Regions from separate parts of the Homo sapiens genome. Here regions 1, 2, 3, 5 and 6 are each linked to region 4. The links are contacts of gene promoters, found by promoter capture Hi-C in blood cells and fetal thymus (Javierre and others, 2016). All regions are on one chromosome and are shown on one strand. Each heading gives the region's core, a stretch centred on a gene start or on the middle of the fragment in contact. The rest is flanking DNA. Distances are from core to core; before and after follow the strand shown.

Evidence for each region. Contacts are between HindIII fragments. The CHiCAGO score rates a contact against its expected background, and 5 or more counts as called.
Region 1: a contact is called between the fragment with the promoter of CPNE5 here and the fragment with the promoter of PIM1 in region 4, in 6 of 17 cell types (fetal thymus, monocytes, endothelial precursors and 3 more). The highest score is 15.2, in fetal thymus.
Region 2: a contact is called between a fragment that was not itself captured here and the fragment with the promoter of PIM1 in region 4, in 3 of 17 cell types (activated CD4 T cells, total B cells and M0 macrophages). The highest score is 6.3, in activated CD4 T cells.
Region 3: a fragment that was not itself captured here is called in contact with the fragment with the promoter of PIM1 in region 4 in 6 of 17 cell types (naive CD4 T cells, total CD8 T cells, fetal thymus and 3 more); the score reaches 7.8 in naive CD4 T cells.
Region 5: a contact is called between a fragment that was not itself captured here and the fragment with the promoter of PIM1 in region 4, in 1 of 17 cell types (endothelial precursors). The highest score is 5.4, in endothelial precursors.
Region 6: a fragment that was not itself captured here is called in contact with the fragment with the promoter of PIM1 in region 4 in 2 of 17 cell types (erythroblasts and total CD8 T cells); the score reaches 7.3 in erythroblasts.

The regions. Positions count from the first base shown.
Region 1 is chr6:36,837,856-36,841,480 of GRCh38, reverse strand. It overlaps CPNE5 (copine 5), which reads left to right and starts at 2,037. Exons shown (of 21, transcript NM_020939.2): 1 at 2,037-2,198. The coding sequence starts at 2,104. RefSeq lists an enhancer at 129-679 and a silencer at 1,364-1,573. The HindIII fragment of the contact is 11,867 bases long and covers 524-3,625 here.
Region 2 is chr6:36,756,234-36,760,174 of GRCh38, reverse strand. CPNE5 (copine 5) reads left to right here. Exons shown (of 21, transcript NM_020939.2): 13 at 3,877-3,930. Among named protein-coding and RNA genes, the nearest start is that of RAB44, 60 kb to the right of the region's middle. RefSeq lists enhancers at 1-903, 739-928, 3,614-3,941. The HindIII fragment of the contact is 2,341 bases long and covers 1,006-3,346 here.
Region 3 is chr6:36,887,814-36,891,813 of GRCh38, reverse strand. The region is part of intron 1 of C6orf89 (chromosome 6 open reading frame 89); the gene reads right to left. Among named protein-coding and RNA genes, the nearest start is that of C6orf89, 3.9 kb to the right of the region's middle. The HindIII fragment of the contact is 484 bases long and covers 1,811-2,294 here.
Region 4 is chr6:37,168,579-37,172,351 of GRCh38, reverse strand. PIM1 (Pim-1 proto-oncogene, serine/threonine kinase) reads right to left here and starts at 2,200. Exons shown (of 6, transcript NM_002648.4): 1 at 1,695-2,200; 2 at 1,473-1,579; 3 at 1,321-1,371; 4 at 861-1,227. The coding sequence starts at 1,776. RefSeq lists silencers at 83-182, 1,372-1,691, 1,952-2,731 and enhancers at 1-435, 2,357-2,955. The HindIII fragment of the contact is 5,698 bases long and covers 1-3,773 here.
Region 5 is chr6:36,903,183-36,907,257 of GRCh38, reverse strand. The region is part of intron 4 of C6orf89 (chromosome 6 open reading frame 89); the gene reads right to left. Among named protein-coding and RNA genes, the nearest start is that of C6orf89, 19 kb to the right of the region's middle. The HindIII fragment of the contact is 813 bases long and covers 956-1,768 here.
Region 6 is chr6:36,860,298-36,864,106 of GRCh38, reverse strand. All of the region lies in intron 2 of PPIL1 (peptidylprolyl isomerase like 1), which reads left to right. Among named protein-coding and RNA genes, the nearest start is that of PPIL1, 13 kb to the left of the region's middle. RefSeq lists an enhancer at 3,777-3,809. The HindIII fragment of the contact is 1,612 bases long and covers 1,625-3,236 here.

The sequences.
Region 1 (3,625 bases), core at 788-3,287, 330 kb after region 4:
ACAGCAGATGCTCAGTAAACACTCCTGGAATGAATGGAGAACATATTCCACAAGCATGCTTTGAGCATTGTTTATGCCAGGTATGTGGGGGATGGGGAACATAGAGATTCCGAGTTCAGTTTTGCATCCTCAGGAAGGGAAGACAGAATTATTCTCCTTGGAGTGGGGCCTCCTGACCCAGCTGTGCCTGGCTGTCAGGGGAATTAACAGCCTCTGTCCCTTGCTGCCTGTTCCAGGAGGCAGAACCCAGTCCAGCTGATTCTGAGCCATGGGGAAATTGTAACAGGCAGAGGAATGTGTTCTTGTATTTATCTTTGACTGACAGTATCTGATGTTCCAGGAATTGACTTCAAACAGAATCCGGAGGAGCCCCTTATGGTCCCGCTGCCACAAACAAGGCCCAGAGAGCGCAACTCTGCCCAGCCCAGCACCAGGTTTTTGGCCTCCCCGCCGGCCCGAGGCACATCGGCTTCGATGTGCCAGGCGGTGGGCGAGGAAGTGGAGGTTCCAGCTCGGCAAAGCTTAGGCTGAGGCTGAGGATGGGCTAGAGTCAAGTCTACGTGTGCAGCCTTACTCAGGGAGACGCCTCTGCGCTGCAACCTCATGCCCGGGAGGGCAAGGCTGGGCTAGGGCGGGGGATCGCGAGGGGCTTGGCTGGGAAGAGGACTGCAGGAGAGGTGTCCCAACTCTCCCCTCGCTCGCCAGGCACACAGCACGCGCCTACTCGGTGCTGGCTGCATAGAAGCCCAGGGAGCTCGGGCCGATCTCCCAGTCTGGTTGCCACCAGACTGGGTGGCAGGAGCTTCTAGACCTGGAGGCTGGCTCAGTCGTGTGGTCACGACGGGCGGGGGAGTGGAAGGGCGCTGGCGCGTGGTTTCGGCAGCCGACTTGGCGAGGCCGCGGCTGGCGGGAACCACGGATGGGGGAGGCGCCCATGCACCGACCCCACCTGGGCCACTGGGAAACCGAGGTAGTCCCTCCTGGCACTGGGGTCGCCCCCACACACCTCCCCAGAAGGAGATGTAGGGTCTGTTTCTGAACTGAGACCCGCCCCCGAGTAGGGCGCACACTCAGCAGAGACCCTCCACACCCAAGCCCCTGGGAGGGGATCTTTTTTGCACACCTCCCTCCCACTTATGCCCCCTCTCAACCCTGCATAGACCTTTCTCAAAAAGGCGCCCGTTGGTTCCCATAACCCTCCCCCTCCCCCAGGATGGAGACCCCTGATGGGAGATAGGGGTGGTGAGAGGGGGCGGGCGCAAATGAAGATGCGCGCGACCAGGACCACCTCTTGCTGTCACCCGCCACGTCCCCAGCATCTGGACCGCGTCCCCCGGCCCGCCACGCGCGCACACACACACACACGCGCACACACACACGCTCACACTCACCCTGCGCGCAGACCCCGCCCGCGGCCCCGCCCCGGCCCCTGCGGGCGCCCCCTCTGGCGTTCCCGGGCGGCGGGAGGCTGCGGCTTCGGGCAGATTTGATTTTCCCGCAGCCCGGGCGCCCCGGAGCCGAAGCCCGAGCCGAGGAGGTGGCGCTCGCAGCCGCGTCTCAGCCCCGTCGCCGCCGGCGCCAAGACCCAGGGAGAGGCGGCGCAGCCCGGGCGCTCGGGCTCCGCGCTGCCGGCGCCCCGCCACCCCCGCCGCCAGCGCCCCATCCGGCGCCTCCCGCTCCTCACGCCCCTCTCCCTGTCTTCTGCATCCCCTCTACCTCTGCCCACAGACGCGCGTCCCTCTCCTGGTGCCCCTCTCCACGACTCCGCGTTTCCCTCCCGGTGCCCTCTCCCCGAGCCCCTCTCCCCGCGCCCCTCTCTGCCTTCCCCGCTGTGCCCCCGCTCCCTGGGCTCCTTGCCCTTCCCCACTGGGCCCCTAGCCTCCTCGCGGCGTCACCCGAGCCCCCTCCTCGATCCGCGGCCCCCGCTCCCTCCGCCCTCTTCCCTCTCTCACTTCCCACGCCCCCTCTTCGCGCTCCTCTCTCCTCCCCTTGCCGCCCAGCCCAGGCTCTGGAGTTGGGGGAGAGCCCAGGGCTCCAGTCGCTCCGGAGGAGGCGTGAATCGCGCAGGGATTGACTAATTTGGGGTGGGGGGTGCGGTGGGCGATGGAGCAGCCTGAGGACATGGCGTCGCTGAGCGAGTTCGACTCCTTGGCGGGCAGCATCCCGGCCACCAAGGTGGAGATCACCGTGTCCTGCAGGTGAGCCTCCCGCTGGCCGGGTCCCCTTGCCCCGGCCCTGGACGCAGAGCCCCGCGGCCCCTGCCGCTTCGATCCTAAACCTCCGCGCGCCCCCTTCCCAGAGTGTCCTGGTCTCCAGGACTGCGCCCCTGCCGATCTGCCAAGAGCCCCTGTCCTGTCCAGCTGCGGGTGGCGACGGCAGAATAGGAAGCCAGGCTGGGGTCATATCCCAGAAAGTTTGCGCTCCAGGCTGTTGCATCGAGGAGATATGAAGACACAGGAACAGGGGGTCCAGGCACCCAAGTGGGGAGAGGGAGTTGGTAAAAGGCTGTACTACGGTCTCTGCTCAGGCTATCTCTGATCACCCCATCCCCAAATCACGAAGTGAGTGATTTGCCCCCATCCCTCCCAGGCTCGTCCACCCTCTCCCTTCTGTGCCCTCCTCTCTTCTCTCTTTGCCCCTTCTTTGCCCCAGCATCCTGATCCTCCCCTCACCAGTCTCCCCCACCCCACTGTCCTAGACTCTAGGATTTTAAAGCCTTCCTTCATCTCTATCAACAACGAAATCGACTCCTGGAAAAGGATCAGATTGACTCATTCATACTAAGGTGTGGATACATGATAACAACTTAAAGTGGCACCATTAAAAAAATAACTTGGGTCAAAAATCTTAAGCCAAAGGAATAGAACACTGATTGTGAAACTGTAGAGTCCAACAGAGGAGGAGGGGGAATATTTTTGTGGGCTACCACGCCCAAATCTTCACTCATGTCACACAGGGTTTGGGGGTAACTTCTCTGTCTAAGAGCTGGGTCGACCCCAGGTTCTCCTAGCTAGGGGAAGGCTGCCCCTGGCAGTAAGAGGGTATGGGTGGCAAAGGGGGATTTTTCCCTAGTTCAGTCTCTCTGTGGCTGGCCTAGGATCATGTGCTGCCACGCAAGCATCACCCACTTTGAGGTTCCCCCACAGAGGCCATGCCCCCTGCCCCAGATCACCGACAGCATTTCTGGAGCCCTGGCTGTGCCCTTGTTCGAAATCACCCATCTCATCCTCTTCCAGGTTGCTCCTTGGTCAGACCCTCCATGAGAGGTAACCTTGTTGCCCCCCAGTCCTGTATTACAAAGTTGTGGCATTGATGAGGTGTAGGTAGAGCTGGAGAGTCTGGGCAGGGGCGTGAAGGAGGGAAGGACTCAGTGTGACTTTCTCTTGAAGACTTGGGGATAAGTGGCAGTGAAGGCTAGTCTGGTTGAACGTAGCTTCCCCCCTAAGCCAGGCCCTCTGGGGGCTCCTGTGATAGCTCCCAGGTCCCATACACCATGCCGTCAGGATCATCTCCCAACGCCATTTGCATCTTGTCATTACTCTGCTGGGAGATTCCTGATGGCCCATTAGCTCCAGTCTCACCTCCTCAGCCATCAAAAGCAGCACGGCCTCCCCACCCTTCTCCT
Region 2 (3,941 bases), core at 927-3,426, 410 kb after region 4:
AATCTCGGCTTACTGCAACCTCCACCTCTACTTCCAGGCTCTAGCTATCCTCCCACCTCAGTCTCCCAAGTAGCTGGGACCACAGGCACACACCACCACCCTGGCGATTTTTTTTTTTTTTTGCATTTTTGGTAGAGATGGGTTTTTGCCATGTTGCCCAGTCTGGCCTCCAACTCCTGAGCTCAGGTGATGCACCCGCCTCGGCCTTGCAAAGTGCTGGGATTTCAGGTGTGAGCCACCACGCCTGGCTGTGCATGTAAATAAAAACACACATCACATGCCTTTGGAGGCCCCTAGGAGCTGGCCCCTGCCCCTTCCCTCTGCCCATTCCCACATTCATCCCCGTCCTGCCACCTGAGGCTCTCTGAACCTCCGTGCTGTCTCAGCCTCCAGGGCTCGATTCATATGGGTGCCTCCACCTGAGACTCCCTCTTGTCTTCTCCTGGGTAGGAGCTATTGGTCCACGGAGCCTCCCTGTGGGTGTTCCTCCTCCAGGAAGTTGTGTCCACCTGCACACCCGCCCCACCCCAGAGCCTGGAGTGGACACTTGTCAGTGCTCCTGGGGTTCCTTCTGGCTATTTTCTGTTTTGTGACACTATTCAACCCCTCAAAGACCTTGAAGTCCTCAGGGTGGGGGTTGTGTTGCACTTACTGCTGCATCCCCAGAGCCAGCACAGCTCCTGGCCCCTAGGAGCCCCTCAGTGCCCCCACCCACCCCACCTAATGTGCGCAGGAGGGCAGATTCCAGACCTGTCCTGTCCCCGCCTGACCACCAAGAAGAAGGGAGGTGACTTAGTGGAGGGGCAGCTCCTCGGCTGGCCCCTAGGTGGCGCTGGCCCCCTGCATGGGATTCACCGTGGCGGGGCTGGAGAGGCTGAGGCTGGGAGCATGAAACCTCAGGGTAAACAGGGATCTGAGAACAGAACATTGCTTTAACATTAAAGCAGTTATATCAGAGAGTGGAAATGTGGAATACAGGCTAATTTAAAGATAACATAGAAAGCTTAGAAGAAACATGCTTGTGGCCAAATCTTTGGTTACTCTCAGGACTCCGGGTTCATTCTCCCCAGCTGGGAGGGCTATGTTGGAGCAAAAGTTTGAGATGCTGTCCATTCCGATAGTTCAACACCCTCAAGGGAGAGATTGGGAAACTGAGGCACAGTGCAGCACTGGGGCTGCCATTTTGCCCTCATCTTAACAGCTTGCCTACTTAAGCTGTTTTCCCATGAATGTGTCCGTGAGCACCTCACCATCTGGGTAACCCCGTGGAGGGGGCGTCCTCCAGTGCTAAAGAGGGTGCTCTGGTCTTCTCTCCCGGGCTCTCTCACCATCTCGCCCAGGCCCTCAGTTTCTACCTGCACAGCTTGCCAGACCTCCCACGTGAACTTCCCACCTGTGCCCCAAATCCAGCGCCTTCCTTCTGTGTCTACCTGGTCACCCCAACCCCTCCCTCTCTCGAACCTCTATAGCCACGCCCAGGGCCCAAGAGGCGTGGTCACTTCTTGACAGCGCTGTTCTCACCATAGCTCAGCACCTGTCCCAATACCCCCAAGTCCTCATGACCTCTCGCATGGACTTATGGTGGCAGTAATAATAGTAGTAGTAATTTTGAAAAATAGCAACTAAGGCTGGGTGCAGTGGCTCACGCCTGTAATCCCAACACTCTGGGAGACTGAGGCAGGAGGATTGCTTGAGCCCAAGAGTTTGAGACCAGCCAGAGTAACATAGCGAGATCCTATCTCTACCAAAAAAAAAAAAATAGCCAGACATGGTGGCAGCTACCTGGAAGGATTGCTTGAGCCCGGGAGGTTGAGGCCACAGTGAGCTATGACCCCACCACTGCACTCCAGCCTGGGCCATAGAGCAAGACCCCGTCTTAGAAAAAAGCAACAGACACGTATAGATAATACTTACTACATTCCAAACTGTTCTAGGCACTTTGCTTGCATTGGCCCATTTAATCCTCATACCTTTCCGGGAGGCAGGTACTTCTTATTCCCATTTTAGAGATGAGGAGACTGAGGCACATTGAGGTTAAGTAACCTGCCTAAGGTCACACAGCTATTATTAGGTGGCAGAACTAGGCAAATATTTCCTGGATGAGCCTCCTCCTCCCCTCACACTCACCTCCACCAGGCCCCAGTGTCCTAGAGCCTGCTCTGATTTTGTCTCCTACCAGCTTGGGGGTCATCAGAGTTCCCTGCAGGCCGCTGGGTGACATTCAGACATTTTTCACTGGGCATTCTAGGCTCTCCTCCAACCAGCCCAGCTTACTCTTCCACCCTGTGGTTCTGCCATCAAACTGGGCCTGGGTTCTATTCATTTCTCCCACAGAACCTCCTCTGACATCCATCTCTCCGTGCCCAGAGCCTTCCTGTGCCTCTAAGTCTGCCTTCAAGACTTCCTGCTCCAGAGAGGCTTTGCTGACACTCTCACCTAGAGTGGTCTTTCCTTCCTCTAACTCCCCTGACACTTCTGTGATCCCCCTTGTTCCATGGCCCTTGTCACTTTTTGCCCTGAGGACATATCTTCTCTCTCCAACATAGGTGATAGATGATTCCAGGGGAGAAGCAATATATGTCTCCACCCACCCCATAAATGTATGTCAAAGAGATCTGTTTGTATCTGTTATCAAGGTGGCACCAATGTATGCACCACTGGCCCGGGGGCAGGAAACCTGGTTTCTAATCCTGTCACTACCCAGATGGCTGTGTGACTTTAGGCAAATCACCTGGTGTCGCTGTGCTTTAGTTTCCTTCTTGCTGGAAGTAGATAGCAATACTCACCCAGACAGAAGAGACCACGGTAAAGATCAGCTGACGGCCTCTGTGGGAACAAAGACAGGGAAAGGGGAAATGAGTTCACCAGAAACCAACAGGCAGCACAGGAGGTATGAAAATTGCCTGGCTTTGTTTGATGGGACATTAGGGAAAAGTTGTGCCTAGACTTCCCTTATTAAAAACAAAACAAAGAAAAACTGGCGAGGGTCAAATGAGAATACAAATACAGTAAGTGCGGAAGTCTCGTGGGGGGCCTCAGGGCTGGGTGGCTCTCGTCACTTTGCCCAGTCTTGGCCTTGGCACTACTGGGATTTGGGACTGCATCACTCCCTGCCGTGGGAGGCTGTCTTGTGTACTGTAGGATGTTTAGCAGCATGCCTGGCCTCTACTCACCCCCTCAGTTGTGGAAACCAAAACCGTCTCCAGATGTTACCAAACGTTCCTGGGGGTAAAATCGCCCCTGGTTGAGACCGCTGAGTTAGCCACCAACAAGCCTTCTCTGAGCACCTACTCTGAGCCTAGCCCCATGATTTATCTGACACAGGTCTGGTTTGGAAGTTAAAGCTTACACTCAAAGAATAGCTAAAGAGGTTCTTGCTGCCAAGTAAGAGGGATGGTGATGGAGAGGGGAGCCTCAGAGGCCCTGGGCAGCCCTTGGGCTGGGTCCCAAAGGAGGAACAGGGGAGATTGGAATTGGCTGAGAGAGGAAGGGGGTGCATTTTTGGTGAGGGGAGCAGCCTCAACCAACACAAGGGACAGGTACAGATAGGGCCGCTTTGCAACATCAAGACTTCTTTGGCTATACTGGGTGGAGGGTGCGTGTGTTCCGGGGAACAGTGGGAGAGAAGGTTAAATAAATATTCCCGGTTGATCGTGGGACCCTGGGTCTGATGGGAGAACCCAGTTGTGTAACCCAGACTCAATACCAGTCTCCCACAAATCCTCCTTAAACCCTTCTCCCCTGGCCCCGTGGTCTTCACACCCCACACTCTAATGGGGCTGGGCTTGGACCACACCCATGGGTGGTTGGAAGCCCTCAAGACTCACCCTGACTGCCTGGAAGCATGCCTTACCTGGTAACTGGTTTTTCCTGCAGGTGGTAAACCCGAAAAAGAAAATGAAGAAAAAGAAATACGTGAATTCTGGCACAGTGAGTAGCCA
Region 3 (4,000 bases), core at 803-3,302, 280 kb after region 4:
CAAAAGAAAGTTTCAAAAGTCCATCAAGATACATCCCAATCTTCAACACTAGGAGCTATATCCAGAGTAAATTAAATTTTCTTTTTTCTCTACTTGGCTCTTTAATATTACACTACCCATGAAGTATGGTATCCATTCTTTAGTGTTATGAATATATTCCATTCTATTTTATCCAGTGATCCCATTAATTAAATATATGTTCTAGTAAAGAAAAAGTGCTCCTTCAACCATTGTGGAAGACAGTGTGGTGATTCCTCAAGGATCTAGAACTAGAAATACCATTTGACCCAGCCATCCCATTACTGGGTATATACCCAAAGGATTATAAATCATGCTGCTATAAAGACACATGCACACATATGTTTATTGTGGCACTATTCACAAATAGCAAAGACTTGGAACCAACCCAAATGTCCATCAATGATAGACTGGATTAAGAAAATGTGGCACATATACACCATGGAATACTATGCAGCCACAAAAAAGGATGAGTTCATGTCCTTTATAGGGACATGGATGAAGCTGGAAACCATCATTTTGAGCAAACTATCGCAAGGACAGAAAACCAAACACCGTATGTTCTCACTCATAGGTGGGAATTGAATAATGAGAACACTTGGACACAGGAAGGGCAACATCACACACTGGGGCCTGTAGTGGGGTAGGGGAGTGGGGAGGGATAGCATTAGGAGATATACCTAATGTAAATGACGAGTTAATAGGTGCAGCACACCAACATGGCACACATATACATATGTAACAAACCTACACGTTGTGCACATGTACCCTAAAACTTAAAGTATAATAATAATAAAAAGAAAAAGTGCTTCTTAGATTATAATAAGAACCACTACAAAGAAACAAACATCAATTAAAAGGAAAAATAACTGATAAAACATTGAAATGATTAATACGATTTAAAAGAGTAATAACTTAAAACTACAATAAATGCTTAAAATTTACAATCAAGGTACAGGCAGGGCACAGTGGCTCACACTTGTAATCCCAAAACTTTGGGAGGTTGAGGCGGGTGGATCACTTGGGGCCAGGAGCTGGAGATCAGCCTGGCCAACATAACATAGCAAAACCCTGTCTCTACTAAAAATACAAAAATTAGCCAGGCATGGTGACGCATGCCTATAATCCCAGCTACTCGGGAGGCTGAGGCATGAGAATCACTTGAACCTGGGAGGTGGAGGTTGCAGTGAGCAGAGATCACATCATGGCACCCCAGCCTGAGCAACAGACTGAGACTCTGTGTCAAAAGAATAAAATTTTTTTTTTAAATGTAGTATATACATACAATGGAATATTATTCAGCCTTAAAAAAGAAAGAAATCCTGCTATTTGTAACAATACGGATGGACCTGGAGGACATTATGCTAAGTGAAATAAGCCAGACACAGAAAGATAAATACTACATGATACCACTTGTGCGATTAATCTAAAATAGCTAAACTCATAGAAGCAAAGAACAGAATGGTGGTTGCAGGAGGCTGCAGGCAGGGGGAAACAGGGAGGTACTGGGCAAAGAATACAAAGTTTCAGTTATACAAGATGAATAACTCCTAGAGACCTACTATACAGCACAGTGCCCAGAGTTAACAATACTGTATTGTATATTTAAAAATATGCTAAGAAGGTAGGTCTTATGTTAAGTGTTCTTATTGCTAATAGTAATAATAAGTAAGAAGGCAGGAGGAAACTTGAAGGTGATGGATAGGTTGATGGCATGGATCATGGTGATGGTTTCACAAGGGCATACTTATGTCCAAATTCATCAAGCTGTACACATTAAATGTGTAAAGCTTTTTGTACAAAAATAGTACAATGAACACCTGGATATCCTTCATTTAGATTTACCAGTTGTTTACATTTGGCTATATTTTCTTTCTGTTTTTACCAGAACTACTTGAAAGTTATTTGCAACACATTATAAAATCATTTCTAAATATTTCAACATGCATCTCCTAAGAATAACGACGTTATTCTACACACAACCATTGGCATTATTGCCATACCCATTAAAATGAGTAATCTCTTAATATTACCTAATATTCAGTCTATAGTCAAGTTTCCTTAACTATCAAATTTTTTTAAAAAGATCATATAGCTATTTAAAAATCCAGGATCCAACCAATGACCACACATTGAATTTGGCTGCCATGCCTCTCTTTAATCTACTTAACTTCAGAACAAGTCCCCAGTGTGTGGTTTTTCTTTTTTTTTTTGTTTTTGTTTTTTGGTCTTTTAGGACATTGACATACTTGAAGAAGTCTTCACATTTTTAAGCTTACCTCTACTTGCTTCCATCCTCACCCTTTCCAGTTTCTACTATCAGAAAAATGCCATAATAGTTCCTTTCTAAGTTTCTGGTACTCTCTCCCTCCCTCCCTTCAGAGGAAAGCTCCTTTGGGGGTTGGGGGGAGAAAGTAACACACTTTCTTGTTTCTCAGGTTTCCATTCATTTATTAACCTGTTGAAATCATATTTCTGCCTCCTCACTCCACCGACATTGCTTTCACTGAGGCCACAAATGGCTTTCTAAACGCCAAGTTCGAAGGACGTTTTTTTCAGTTATTACCTTATCTGACCTCTCTGCAGCAGCTGCTGTTGCTACCCCATTATCTATCTCCCTCAAGTGTACTCAAACCTTAACATAATTCTCTCGTTCTCTGCTGGTATCCACCAGTTATCCTTGACCTTCTTATTCCCTCCAACACTTTGACCACCAGCTATTGGTGATTCCCAAATCTCTTCTCCAGTCTACAACTCTCTCTAGGGTTCAAGACCCATTTATCTACCTGCCTACCAGACACGGTGATCCAAGTTTCCCATAGCTCCCTGTATGTAATGTGTCTATAACCCAACTTACTGTTTTCCCCTTCAACTCATTCCTCCCACTGCACCTCTTTTCTTAATGGAAACACTAATCCTCCAAATTTAAAAACTATTCTCCTCCTACCTCACTCCCACCAATGAAACTATCACTAAGTCCTCTTGATTCAGCCTCCTATATAATTCTCACATTCATCCCTTCCTCTCTACATTAACAGCACAGTTAAGGTCTTCAACATCTCTCCTATGGACCATCACAAAGATGTAGTTAATCTCTATACTTCCAGTTCTCCTCTTCCCCAATCCATTCTCTACCTTGTCCAGTTTTTTATTTTTATTTTCTGAGACAGGGTCTCACTCTTCGCTCAGGCTGGAGTGCAGTGACATGATCTCAGCTCACTGCAACCTCTGTCTCCTGGCTTCAAGAGATTCTCGTGCCTCAGCCTCTGGAGTAGCTGGGAGTACAGGCACGCGCCACCACACTCAGCTAATTTTTGTATTTTTCTGGTAAAAAATGGGTTTCACCATGTTGGCCAGGCTGGTCTTGAACTCCTGACCTCAAGTGATCCACCCACCTTAGCCTCCCAAAGTGCTAGGATTACAAGCGTGAGCCGCTGCACTCGGCCACTTATTTTTTTGAAACACAAATTGGCTCATGCTAAGCACCTTCCAAGACTCCCCATCCTCTGCAGGAGCAGTTTAGCATGGTGACTAAGAACACAGATACTGGAGTTGGAAAAAGCTGGATGCAAATTCTAGATTTTACCACTTACTGTGTGGCCATGAGACACTACTCATCCTCTCTAAGCCTCAGTTTTCATGTATAAAATGGGGATAATTATTTCTACCCCACAATGTTTTATTTCAGAGAATTATAAAATGATGTAACACATTTGTTCCAATAGCCAGACAAATTAAATACCTAATAACAATCATTTTAAGATAAAGTCCTAAGTCAAGCATGGTGGTTCATGCCTGTAATCCCAACACTGGGAGGCTGAGGTGGGAGGACTGCTTGAGCCCAGGACTTCCAAGACCAGCCTGGGTAACATAGCAAGACCCTGTATCTACAAAAAAAATAAAAATAAAAATTGGCCGAGTGTGGTGGTGCCTGCCTGTAGTCCCAGCTACTTGGGAAGCAGAGGTGAGGGGTAGCTTGAGC
Region 4 (3,773 bases), core at 951-3,450:
GGGCAGCAAAGACTTGAAAGAAAAAACATGGGAGGACCCGGCCAGCCATTAACTGTTAAATACAAAAAATGCAGCCCAACCCAGCGTCCTCCAAGGGCAAATAAACATAAACCACAAGCCCGAGTCACAAGTTTTGAAAGGCTGTCGTTTGTTAGGTTAAGCCGCTCAGATGATGACCCACCCTCCGCAGCTTTGATCTCAGGCTCTCCATTCCTTCTTTTCTGAAAGAACCCGCTCCAAGCCCCTCCCTAGGATAGGTTTTCATCCTCTCTGCGGAGACACCCAACTAATTTTCAAACCAGCGACAGATCTTATTTCACAACATTCATTCCTGACTCTCTCTCCCCTTAACACTAAAGAAAAAAAAAAGCCACCAGTAATAATATAGTTCCTATTCCTTAACCTTCCCTAGATCAGAAAGGAGTTAAGAACTGCAGCTCTAAAACTACCATACAGAAAACTAACTCCCTTATAAAATAAAACAAAAATTACAAAACCGGCATCAATTTCCACCTCTTCCCCCGCCCCCATCCTTTTACTGGCGGGGAAACTGGGTCAGACTTTAGAAAAATCTGGGCTACCGCCGGTTGCCCACAACCTCTTATTCATCGGGAAAGCCTGGAACTAACTGAATTCCACTTGAAGAATAAAATCATGCCAGAAACATTACAGGTTCAGCTGGCTGAAAATCCCCGGCTTTACTACGCTGGGAGGCTCTCCTGCGTCCCACCCCGGCTAGCATCGAGCCAGGCGGCCCAATGACCTTTACAAAAGGCTGGCGCGGGAGACTGGCCGAGGCCTCCGGACTGGGCCGGGCCGGGCCGAGTCACCTGGGCAGCTCCCTCCCGGGCCTGGCTCACCATCGAAGTCCGTGTAGACGGTGTCCTTGAGCAGCGCCCCCGACCCGAAGTCGATGAGCTTGAGCTCGCCGCGATTGAGGTCGATAAGGATGTTTTCGTCCTTGATGTCGCGGTGGAGCACCCCGCAGTTGTGGCAGTGCCGCACGGCCTCCAGCACCTGCCAGAAGAAGCTGCGGGCCAGCTCCTCTTGCAGGGCTCCCCTTTCCGTGATGAAGTCGAAGAGATCTTGCACCGGCTCGGGCCTCTCCAGGATCAGGACGAAACTGTCGGGCCTCTCGAACCAGTCCAGGAGCCTAATGACGCCGGAGAAACCCGAGCTCACCTTCTTCAGCAGGACCACTTCCATGGGCACTCGAGTGCCATTAGGCTGCAGGGGCGAGGGGGCCGCGTTAGGGCGGGAGTCGGGGGCGCCCCTCACCCCACCCACTCATCCTGGGGGTCGCTCCTGCAGGGCACTCACCAGCTCTCCCCAGTCGGAAATCCGGTCCTTCTCCACGTGTTTGATGGCCACCTGGAAGCCCAGGGTCTCCGTCAGGTTCCCTCGTCCGGGCTAAAGCACGCCCGTGCGCCCCCCGCCCGGCGCGCCCTCCCCACCGCGGGGCGCCCACTCACCGGCAAGTTGTCGGAGACGCGGATGCCTGAGTAGACCGAGCCGAAGCCGCCGCTGCCCAGTAGCGGGCCCACCTGGTACTGCGACTCCAGGGGCTCCTTCTCCTTGCCTAGGAAAGGGGGAAGCACGGGGACTCAGTGCCGGCCCGCGAGCCGCCAGCTCCCCACCCAGGAGATCCCGCCGCCGCCCCGCATCCCCGGGCCGGAGGCGGGGGGTGCTCTCACCGGGCGCCAGCTTGGTGGCGTGCAGGTCGTTGCAGGGCGCGGCGCGCAGGTGGGCAAGCGAGTTGATTTTGGACAAGAGCATCCCAACCTCCAGGATGTCGGCGCAGGGACGGTGCCCAGAGGAGCTGCCGCAGGAGCCGGAGCCGGGGCTGTGCCGAAGGCTATGCCTGGGGCTGTGGCTGTGGCTGTGGCTGCGGGTGGCGTTGCGGCTGTGGCTGCGGCTGGCGCGGAAGGCCGAGGGCGAGTCGGAGGACAACTGAGGGCGCTGCCGGGACTGGCGGCGGGAGGGCGCGCCAGCGGGGTCGGGCAGCGCTGAGAACGGCGGGGTGAGCGGCTCGTGGGGCTCGTGCGGCAGCGCCGCGGGGCAGGAGGCTAGTGGTTGCTGCTGCTGCTGCTGCTGCTGCTGCTGCCGGTCCCGCCGCCGCCGCTGCCACCGACTCCTCTCGGGCCTCCTCAGCCACCGCGGCCGCTGCAGCAGACGCCCGGCTCGCCCCGCAGCCAGGAGTAAAGGGGAGGAGCGCGCCGGCGGGGAGGGCGCGCGGGGAGGGCGCGGCGGGCGGGGACGGGGCGGGGCCTCTCCGGGAGGCCAAGGCGGGGAGCAGGGCTGCCGGGCCGGCCGAGGGAGGAGAGGGGGTGGGGAAGCGGCGGGACTGGGCGACTCCCCTCGGCCCCCGCCCCGCGCGCTCTGTGGCCGCGCCCCGGCCCCGCCCCTGCCAGCGCTACTCCAGCCAACCAGAGGCCGATTGATCTGCATAACTCGGCGCGCCCCGCCCCCGCCCCGCCCAGCTCTCGCGGTCAGAATGGTCTCTACGCCGCCACGACGTGGCGGGAAGGAAAAGGCGCCAAAATGGAGGGGGAGGGGCGCGGGGCGTGAGGGGAGGCGGGAGCTGGGTGTAGGGCCGCGAGGGAGGAAGGATGGGGAGGGGCGTATCGATTCAAACCCAAACAATAACAAAGCCATCAAAGGCCGCCCGAGGCCGGCTCTGCGGCTCTCCGTTTCGCTGAGGGTTTTGGGTCAAGGGCTCGAGCCGGAGCATAACAAGTTGCGCGGAGACGACGGGCGTTAGTGTGTCAGGCGGGGAGGCCGGCGCGCCGGGTGTCGGACTGTGTGTGGGGATGCCGACGAGGGTGGTCTTTCTGTGTGACTCAGACCCGAGACCTCCAAGTCGGCTGGGGCGGGCTGACGTCGCGCTGTAGGCTGGGGGCGGATTCTGGGGGTTTGTGTGTTGGGGGGCGCGTCGGGGGCGAAGGATCCGCAGGACATGAGTCACGGAGGGAGTGGAGGAGTCAGGCCTGGAACAGAACTGGAGGCGGGAGCCCCGCTCCTGCGGGAAAGGGATGCAGCCCTCAGTCGTTCCGGCCGGCTAAAAGCTCAGCCACGGGATTCCCATTTTAGAAATGCAAAAGCACCAGCGAATCCTGATTTCTGGGAAGGGATGTGTGTCAAAGGGCCGGGTAAAGAGGAAATCACGAAGCAAATGTTAGTGTTGTGATGCCAGATGCTGCCTCAGCCCCTTCTGTGAGGGCGGAAAATTCCTCATCTAAAACGAGGGTGGGAGGGTGCGCTTGATTTAACCAGTTTTCACGTTGTAGTCACCTTTTCATCAGCCTGTTATTACCAGGCAGGCAATACCAGCAATTATTGGCCAACCCCAAGTCTTGTCTCAAAGGAAACCCCCCACCCTCTGCCTCCCTTGGAAATAACCCGGAACACTGACCAATTCCACTTGCATCCTTTGTCCTTTTAAACTTCATGTAGAGTTGATAACGACGTGTGAAATGAGTAAATTAAAATACTATATAATCCATAAATTGAATTGTCAGTGGCCTAAGTAATTGAAAGCTAACTACATTCTATTTTAATTTTTTGAAGTGCCTGCCATTTAAAGGAAAAATCAGGATCCCTATAGCTGTCATTAGTGAATTTAAATGTTTCCTTTGAAAGTTTTCTACAGTGCTTGCTTTATAAAAGTGCCCAGATCCTCCACAACTTTTATGAATTTATCCTACAAAATATTACATATTTTCCTTTTGTTTGTGTACTGTGGCCGAACTCATTCATTTTTTATGACTAGGAGA
Region 5 (4,075 bases), core at 113-2,612, 260 kb after region 4:
AAAACTCCCTCTGGATAAAAAGGATAGGGAAGAAAGAAAAGAACAAAGCCAATACTAGCTCTACAAGAGCAGTGGTTTTGTCTGTTTTGTTCACTGCTTTGTTGAGAACAGTGCCTGGCATATATAGCAGGGTCTCAATAAACATTTACTGAATGAGTGAATGAAGTTGGGGAGAGGGAGGAAGGGATGGAAGGAGGAAAAGAAGGAGGGAGGAAGGCAGGAAGGCAGGCAGGAAGGCTGATTTTTCAGAAGCTTTAACAATAGAATTAAGTCCATGGGGAGAAAAATCAAATGAGCAATCTGGATTCACAGAAACCTCAAAATAAAGATTAAATAAATATAACTTCATCATTTCTTGCATTATAAATATAGCCAAGAAAACCCTGCAAAGCCCATGACAAAGTTCCCATGACTTTCACTAGTGTGTGCTCAATATTTAATCAGGCTGCTCTCCAGAAGCTTGTTTGTGCATAGCACCTCTTCTAGTACCCCGGGCATGAGGCAGGGGTGAAGCCTTGACAATGAAGGAGGCTTCTGCCAGGTCCCTGCATGTGTGGCACCATGCCCAGAGCCATTTTCACACACCGTAGAGGGAAAGAGCCCAAGAAATCATTTCACCAACAGCCTTGCCTCCAGGAAGCAATGCATTTGAACCACTCCAAACCACAGAGAAAGTCTATTTTCATGAGTTCTCACTTGTACAAAAATTTGTTTCTAAATGTGAAAATTTATTATCAAAAACACAGCAAAAGAAAAAATTAAAAATAAATAAATGTGAGACTTCAGATAAGTCAGTCAATCCCCTTGCACATCAGTTTCCTCATCTTTGAAATGAACATAAAAACAGTATCTACCTTATGTGACTGCTGTGAAGACTGAGAAATAAACTGCACGGCACAGTACCTGGTATACAGTAAGTGCTTGACAGAGCTGTTATTATCACAGAAGGTAAGCTTATTTTGCAAATAAAAGAGGAAGGTTTTCCTTGCGGTCTAAGCAGTTCATCTTTGAGCACAGATCTGGACTCTCTAAGTCTTACTAGATTCTTAGTTTGAGGCCAATAAATGATTTGCTATTTCCAAAACTTCTTGATGTTGCTGGATCTACTTCATCCTTCCTTTGAAGGTTACGGGATGCATCGAGTTCCAAATGTGTGCCTTTTCACTGTATGTGAGAACTATCCCAGGCTTCCTCAGTAGAAATGAATATGTTATTTTTAAGTTGGCCAGAAAATGACCAAAGTAAAAAAAATAATTGGCTGAACATGCTAGCGCCTGGCTTGACTGAGGGCAGAGATGGCAGGCTGTAAGTGTGATATCTTGGACAGAATGCTAGAGGGAGTTAAGAAACTAGGGTTCAAGTGTGATTTTGCCACTTTTAGCTGGGTAAGCAAGCTCCTTTACCTCTCCTGGCCTCAGTTACCTCTTTTATAAAATGGGGTATGTACTAGATTAACTCTAAAATTCTTTTCTGGCTTTAAGACTCAATGATTCCATGGAAATGGTAAAAACCAAGGGGATGGCCGGCAGGAGTAAAGTGACTATAAAGATATGAAGCCAGGAGGGGAGAAAAGCAGTAAGAATGTGAATGTAAAGAGAAAACTCTGGGTCAGTAAGAGGAAGGATTAAGTCAGTCAAATATTATCCATAAGGGTGCAGACTAGGGAGGATGAACTGGGCTGAATGTCAGGGTGCAGACTAGGGAGGATGAACTGGGCTGAATGTCTAAGACAACACCAGGTCGGGAAAATTCTAAAGGGTCAGAAGCTTGGAAGACCACTTATCTTTGGAACAGCCAGAAAGAATATTGTCTCTTCAGGGACTAGGGAGTTAAGAGAAAGTAACTGATGATCCGAGAGAGACAGTGGTAGAACTCCAACATCAGACTTAAAGCTAGACTCTTCAGGTCTACTGCACAGCTACAGACTACTCACATCAGAGGCGAAGGGCTCAGACTCTGAAGACTGGCTGCCTGGGTTCAAATCATGGCTCCGTGACCAGACCTGGGACCTTGAGCAAGTGACCTAACCATACTGTGCCTCAGTGTCCTCATCTGTAAAATGGGCATAAAACCTGAAGCTACCCTATAGGGATGTTGTCAAGATTAAATAAGCCGATATATGGAAAGCCCCCTGAACAGGGTCTGGCATCTGGTAAGTAATAAACAACTGTCAGTTTATTTACTTATTTTTTGCTGCAGAGCGGGATGTTTCCATGACTCGCTGCAAAGTCACTTCATTCTTCTTATTGAGAGCATTTAGGGGCAGGATTTCCTATCTAAGGCTGAAATCTAGAAAAAGAACCCCACCTCTGTCACCTTTTTGTTCCCTGGGTGGGGTCAGGGGAAACTTCCAGTCATTGGTGGTGGTGCCTCTTGTACATCACCAAGGCTGCAGCTGCCCTCCATCATTCCCGAGGTGCCACTGCAAGGAGCACCAGATGACCCTGGGAGTGTGAGACAGGCCAGCACTTCAGGAAACCATATGGGGTTTCCTTTCGGGAATCTGTCACACCATTCTCCCCTTGCATTTACTTTAAATGTATGGCCAACTAATCCTAACCTGAAGGTAGTTGTTTTTTGATACCAGGACATTAAAAAATGATATATTTTTACTTTTCCTGCCCTCTTACAGGCCCAGATTAAGTTGCACTTAATTCTCCCTCATGTGTTTCTGTTTACTCTTCATATAATTACGTGTTTTTAACTTTTCTTCCAAATGCTACGCAAAATGCTGTTAGTTTCACATGTCTACAGCTTCCCAGAATTATCATACATAGGAAAATATGGTGCTTCCACATCCACATTTACAAGTAAAAACAGCACTTTAATAGAATCAACAACATTAAAGAGCTAAAGCCACACCCTTCCAATGCTCACTCGCTCTCTCTACAACTGAGCTCCAAGGACTCATTTTATTTCCATCTGCAAGGCAAAATATTGATTTGAAGTAGTCCAAATAATCCAGCTTGTTTACAAGACACTAATGTTTCTGGAATGTTTAAACTATGATTTAGAGAAGAAGCGAGCAGTGTTCATTGACGATGCCCCATTTCTCAGTTCAACCGTGTATGGAGATTTACTTTATAGGACTGGGGAAGAAGATAATGCCATCAACCAGGTCAGGAAAACTCATCAGGAGTTGCCGTTAGGGAGGCTTTGAGGGGAAGACAGTCAGGAAAGGAGACTGGTGTGTCTGAGGAAGAGGCACAGACTGGCCTAACTGACAAGTTTCTCTCGCTGTTTCCTCCAAACACTTTGAACCGTTCTAATAGGAGTTTGAGACTGCATTTTTTTTTTTTTAGCTCTGTTGGTGACATTTCAAAAGCAACCTTCCCAATAAATACAAGGAAGTTACATCTGAAATTTTCAAATGAAATATCTGAGCTGTTGATTTTTTAAAAAAAAACAAAAACTCCTGAGGTGGAATTCTTGTCTTACAATGTTCCCTTCCTCTGATTTTGATACAATTTTGGAAACCTTTCCATGACTTCCTCAAGTATACAAAAATAGCTTTCGATGGAGACCCAATCCAAGGGATGATTTTTATGACTCATTAGATCTTAAAGAATGACATTATGAGACCATCCTGGCTAACACGGTGAAACCCTGTCTCTACTAGAAATACAAAAAATTAGCCGGGCGTGGTGGCGGGCACCTATAGTCCCAGCTACTCAGGAGGCTGAGGCAGGAGAATGGCGTGAACCCAGGAGGCAGAGCTTGCAGTGAGCCAAGATCGCACCACTGCACTCCAGCCTGGGCGACAGAGCGAGACTCCAACTCAAAAAAAAAGAGAATGACATTATGATTATAAAGCTTAAATACATTTTTTCTGAAAGCATTTTTCCTAAAATTTAAGACACATTCTAAAAGTTTCGGATCATGGTTACACAATAAATTCTATAATCCATTTGTGATATTAATACACATATTATTCTACATTGCCAAATAAGATAAACATCACCAAAAAAATCCCAAAATAATATCCCCCTTTCTCAAAAAGTAAATTTCTTTACACACACACACACACACACAAAATTGGAGGCAGGGTCTCGCTATGTTGCCCAGGCTGGTCTTG
Region 6 (3,809 bases), core at 1,181-3,680, 310 kb after region 4:
CTGGAGATGGTTGTTGTTTGAACTAGGGTGATAGCAGCTGTGTTAGTTCTGGTCCTCTGGGAAGCAAACACCAAGATAGAGGTTTATTGGGTAACACCTGTGAAAGATAAAGGGTCAGGGAACCAGGTTTGGAAGGGAAGGTCTTCACACAGCAGCGCAGGCCTGAGTAACACCTGTGAAAGCAGAGGGGCGGAGGAGGAGCAGCTGCCAGTGAGCAGCGAGGAACACCAGGAGAATGTGGAGTCGTGGAAGCCAAAGGAAGACAGCAACTCAAGCAGAAGGGTGACATCGAGTGTGGATCAAGTAAAGTGAGTGCTGAGGATTGACCACTGGGTATAACCACGTGGAGGTCACTGGCGACCTTGACAAGAGCAGTTTCAGCGGAGCGGTGAGGGGCGAAAGTCTGAATGGAGCATGTTCAAGCAAGAATGGGGAGAAGTAGAGACACTTGGTGTTGACAGCTTTTTCAAGGAGTTTTTCTGTGAAGGGATGTAGAGAAATAGGAGGATACTTGGAAATAGAGTTTTGCTTTTTAAAATAGGAAATATCAATAACATGTTTAAATGCTGACAGGAATGATCCATTAGAAAGAGAAAAATTGGTCTACTAGAGGGGGAGGTTGTAGTTGCTGAGTTCTTTAAAGGTGAGCGGGATTGGGTACGTGGTGGTAGGATAGTCATGGACAGCTTATTCACACAGTGTCTTAGGGAAGGGAGGTGGGTAGAGGTGTAGGAAGGGAAGGGGCTTTGGTGGTGAGAGCATGTGAAAGTTCTCTTCTGATAATTCCTTCTTCTCAGTGAAATAAGAAGCAAGGTTCTCCTCAAAGAGTGAGCAGCAGCGAGGGAGTGGTGGAAATTTGAGGACAGAGGAACTGAATAAACCCAGGCAGGCTGCCTCCCGAGGTGGCACTTTGAATCATGACCAGCAGCTTCTCAGAGAAAATGCTCGGGTTACCTCAGTTAAAGGGGCTCTTCATCACTGACACTACTGTGTGTTTGCCTCATGTTACACACCAGATAGCTTCCATATGCTGTCTCATTTAATTCTCATAACAAGCCTGTGAGACATAGGTGTTACTGCTACTCCCATTTTGCAGACAGGGGAACTGAGGCTTGGAGAGAAAGTGTCTTGATTAAGGTTAAACAGTAATTGGTGGGGTCAGAACTGGAATCCAGACGTCTCTGACCCCAAAGGCAAGTGAGAAAGAGAAGACAGCATCTTCAGAACCACAAAGCCCCTTGGAGGACTGTGGCATTGTTCCCGTCTGGTATATTAACAAAGTGTTTGTGTCAGGTAGCACTGCTTTTGGCTACAAGTAACAGAAAACCTAATCCCACGGGCTGTTTTTTCTTACACAACAGAACGTCTGGAAGTGAGCAGTTATTGTCATCTCTTCACCAGCCCAGAAGAGTTGTCAGGGATCTAGGCTTGCCATATCTTTCCCCACTTCATTCGTAATGTGTTGGCCTTTGGTCTTGAACTTGTTAGTCTTATGGTTGCAAGATGGCTGCTGCTGTTCTGGCATCACCCTACTTTCAAAGAAGGAAGATGGGAAAGAGCTGTAGATGAAGGACAAAAGAGTATGTCTGTTTTTATCAGGAAAGCTGTAGCTTTCTCAGAAGCTTGACTCAGCGACTTCTGTTTGTATCAGTAAGTCACAACTGGGTCATCTGGCCACGCCTGTCTGCAAAATGGACTTGTCAGCACCTGCCTTTTTTGTCTCTGAGGTTGAGGCAGGCTGTGGAGGAGGAGGCTGGGGATGCTCAGGAGACTACTGACGGACAGTGTCTGTTAGAGGCACTCTTGCCAGAAGAGAGGCTTTGATTGGTCAGTTGCCCTCTGGTGTCAGGTGCCCCACTGGCTCTCCTTATAGGCCACTGCCCATCTGTGGGGCTGGATATTAATCTATTGTCCCATCAACTGTGGGGTGGGAGGGGCGGGGACAAGTAGCACCAAGTGTGGTCATCTTGGTGTAAGACACTGCATGTCCCATGCCTTAGACATCATTTTGACAGGTTTCCACAGTGACTAAGAGGAGGAGGAAGGGACATCACAGGAGTCACAGGGATGAGAAAAGGGTTTTTTGTGTTTTGTTTTTAAGAAACAACACAGGCCAGGCACAGTGGCTCACACCTGTAATCCCAGCACTTTGGGAAGCCGAGGTAGGCAGATCACCTGAGGTCAGGAGTTTGAGGCCAGCCTGACCGACATGGAGAAATCCCGTCTCTACTAAAAATACAAAATTAGCCAGGCATGGTGGCGCATGCCTGTAATCCCAGCTACTCGGGAGGCTGAGGCAGGAGAATTGCTTAAACCTGGGAGGCGGAGGTTGCGGTGAGCCAAGATGGCACCATTGCACTCCAGCCTGGGCCACAAGAGCGAAACTCTGTCTCAGAAAAAAAAAAGGAATTAAAAAAAAAAAAAAACACAGATCATAAAGAAGAAGGTTAAGAAATGTTAACTGCAAAGGTTCTGTTCATTGGAAGATCCCATTACAAGAGTGAAAAAAGTTAACTGGGAGAAGGTATTTGCAAAACATTCACTGACAGAGGATTAGTATCTATAGTATATAGTTGAGCCTTTACCAACATGGGTTTGAACCATGGAGGTCCATACAGTTTTCTCAGAGCCCACAGCGGGACTTGAGCGAGCAGGGATTTTGGTGTCACAGGGATCCTGGAACCAATCCCCTGAGTATACCAAGGGATGACTGTATGTATCAATTCCAAAATGTCATACCACTGAGTGGCCGTTCACAGAGGGGACAAGCTAAATAAGCCAGTAAACATGAAATTATGCCAAACTTCAGAGAAATGCAGTTTAAAACACCACAAGAGGTCTCACACTTCTCAGACTGACAGAAGGACCTAGAGCAGTAAGAGTGAGAGTGCTGCGGGGTGGGGTGCATGTTGGTTCATCCTTTTCAATAAGGCACTTAGAAAAATCTAGCAATGATGAAATACTCAAACTATGACCCTGTGTATCCCCTGTGAGGTATTGGCCCCCGAGAGCTCTTGCACTTGGATTTCGGAGACAGTATAAGAATAGTTTTTATAGCATGGTCGATAATAACCAAAACATTGGAAAGATCCTCAGTATCAACACCAGAAAAGATAAGACAGAGCATTATGGTCATACAGTGAGGTGAACACTACAGAGACCTGCCTGGAACAAAGTAGATGAGTCTCTCAAACAGTGTTGAGAATATATAAAGTGTAATACCACTTATGTAAGCTTAAAAACATGCAAAACAACAATACTTTTTTTTTTTAGGGGTACATAGATGTGTAGTAAAAAAGCTTAAAAACATGCAAAACAGCAATACTTTTTTTTTTTTTTTTTTAGGGATACATATATGTGTAGTAAAAAAGAAAATGCATGGAAATGCCAAATTCTTGTCAGAATAGTGGTTACCTGAGAGGAAAATGTGATTCTTTGAATCAGCTGTTAGCTCTCAGGAGAATGAGTGGTGGGGAGAGATGCAGTGGGGTGTATGCATGGGGTCTTAGCTGGATTTGCAATAGTTTATTTCTTGGGGGCGGAGGTGGTCATAGATATTGGTCATATTATTCTTTGTATGTTTGCGTGTCTGAAATAAATACATTGAATAAATGATCCCAAGAGAGGACAGAGGACAGAAGAGGAAAAGAATCTCTTTTTTTTTGGAGACAGACAGGAGTGCAATGGCGCAATCACAGCTCACTCTAGCCTCGACCTACTGGGCTTGAGTGATCCTCTCACCTCAGCCACCTGAGTAGCTGTAGCTGGGACTGCAGGCACGCACAACCACGCCTGGCTAATTTTTGTAG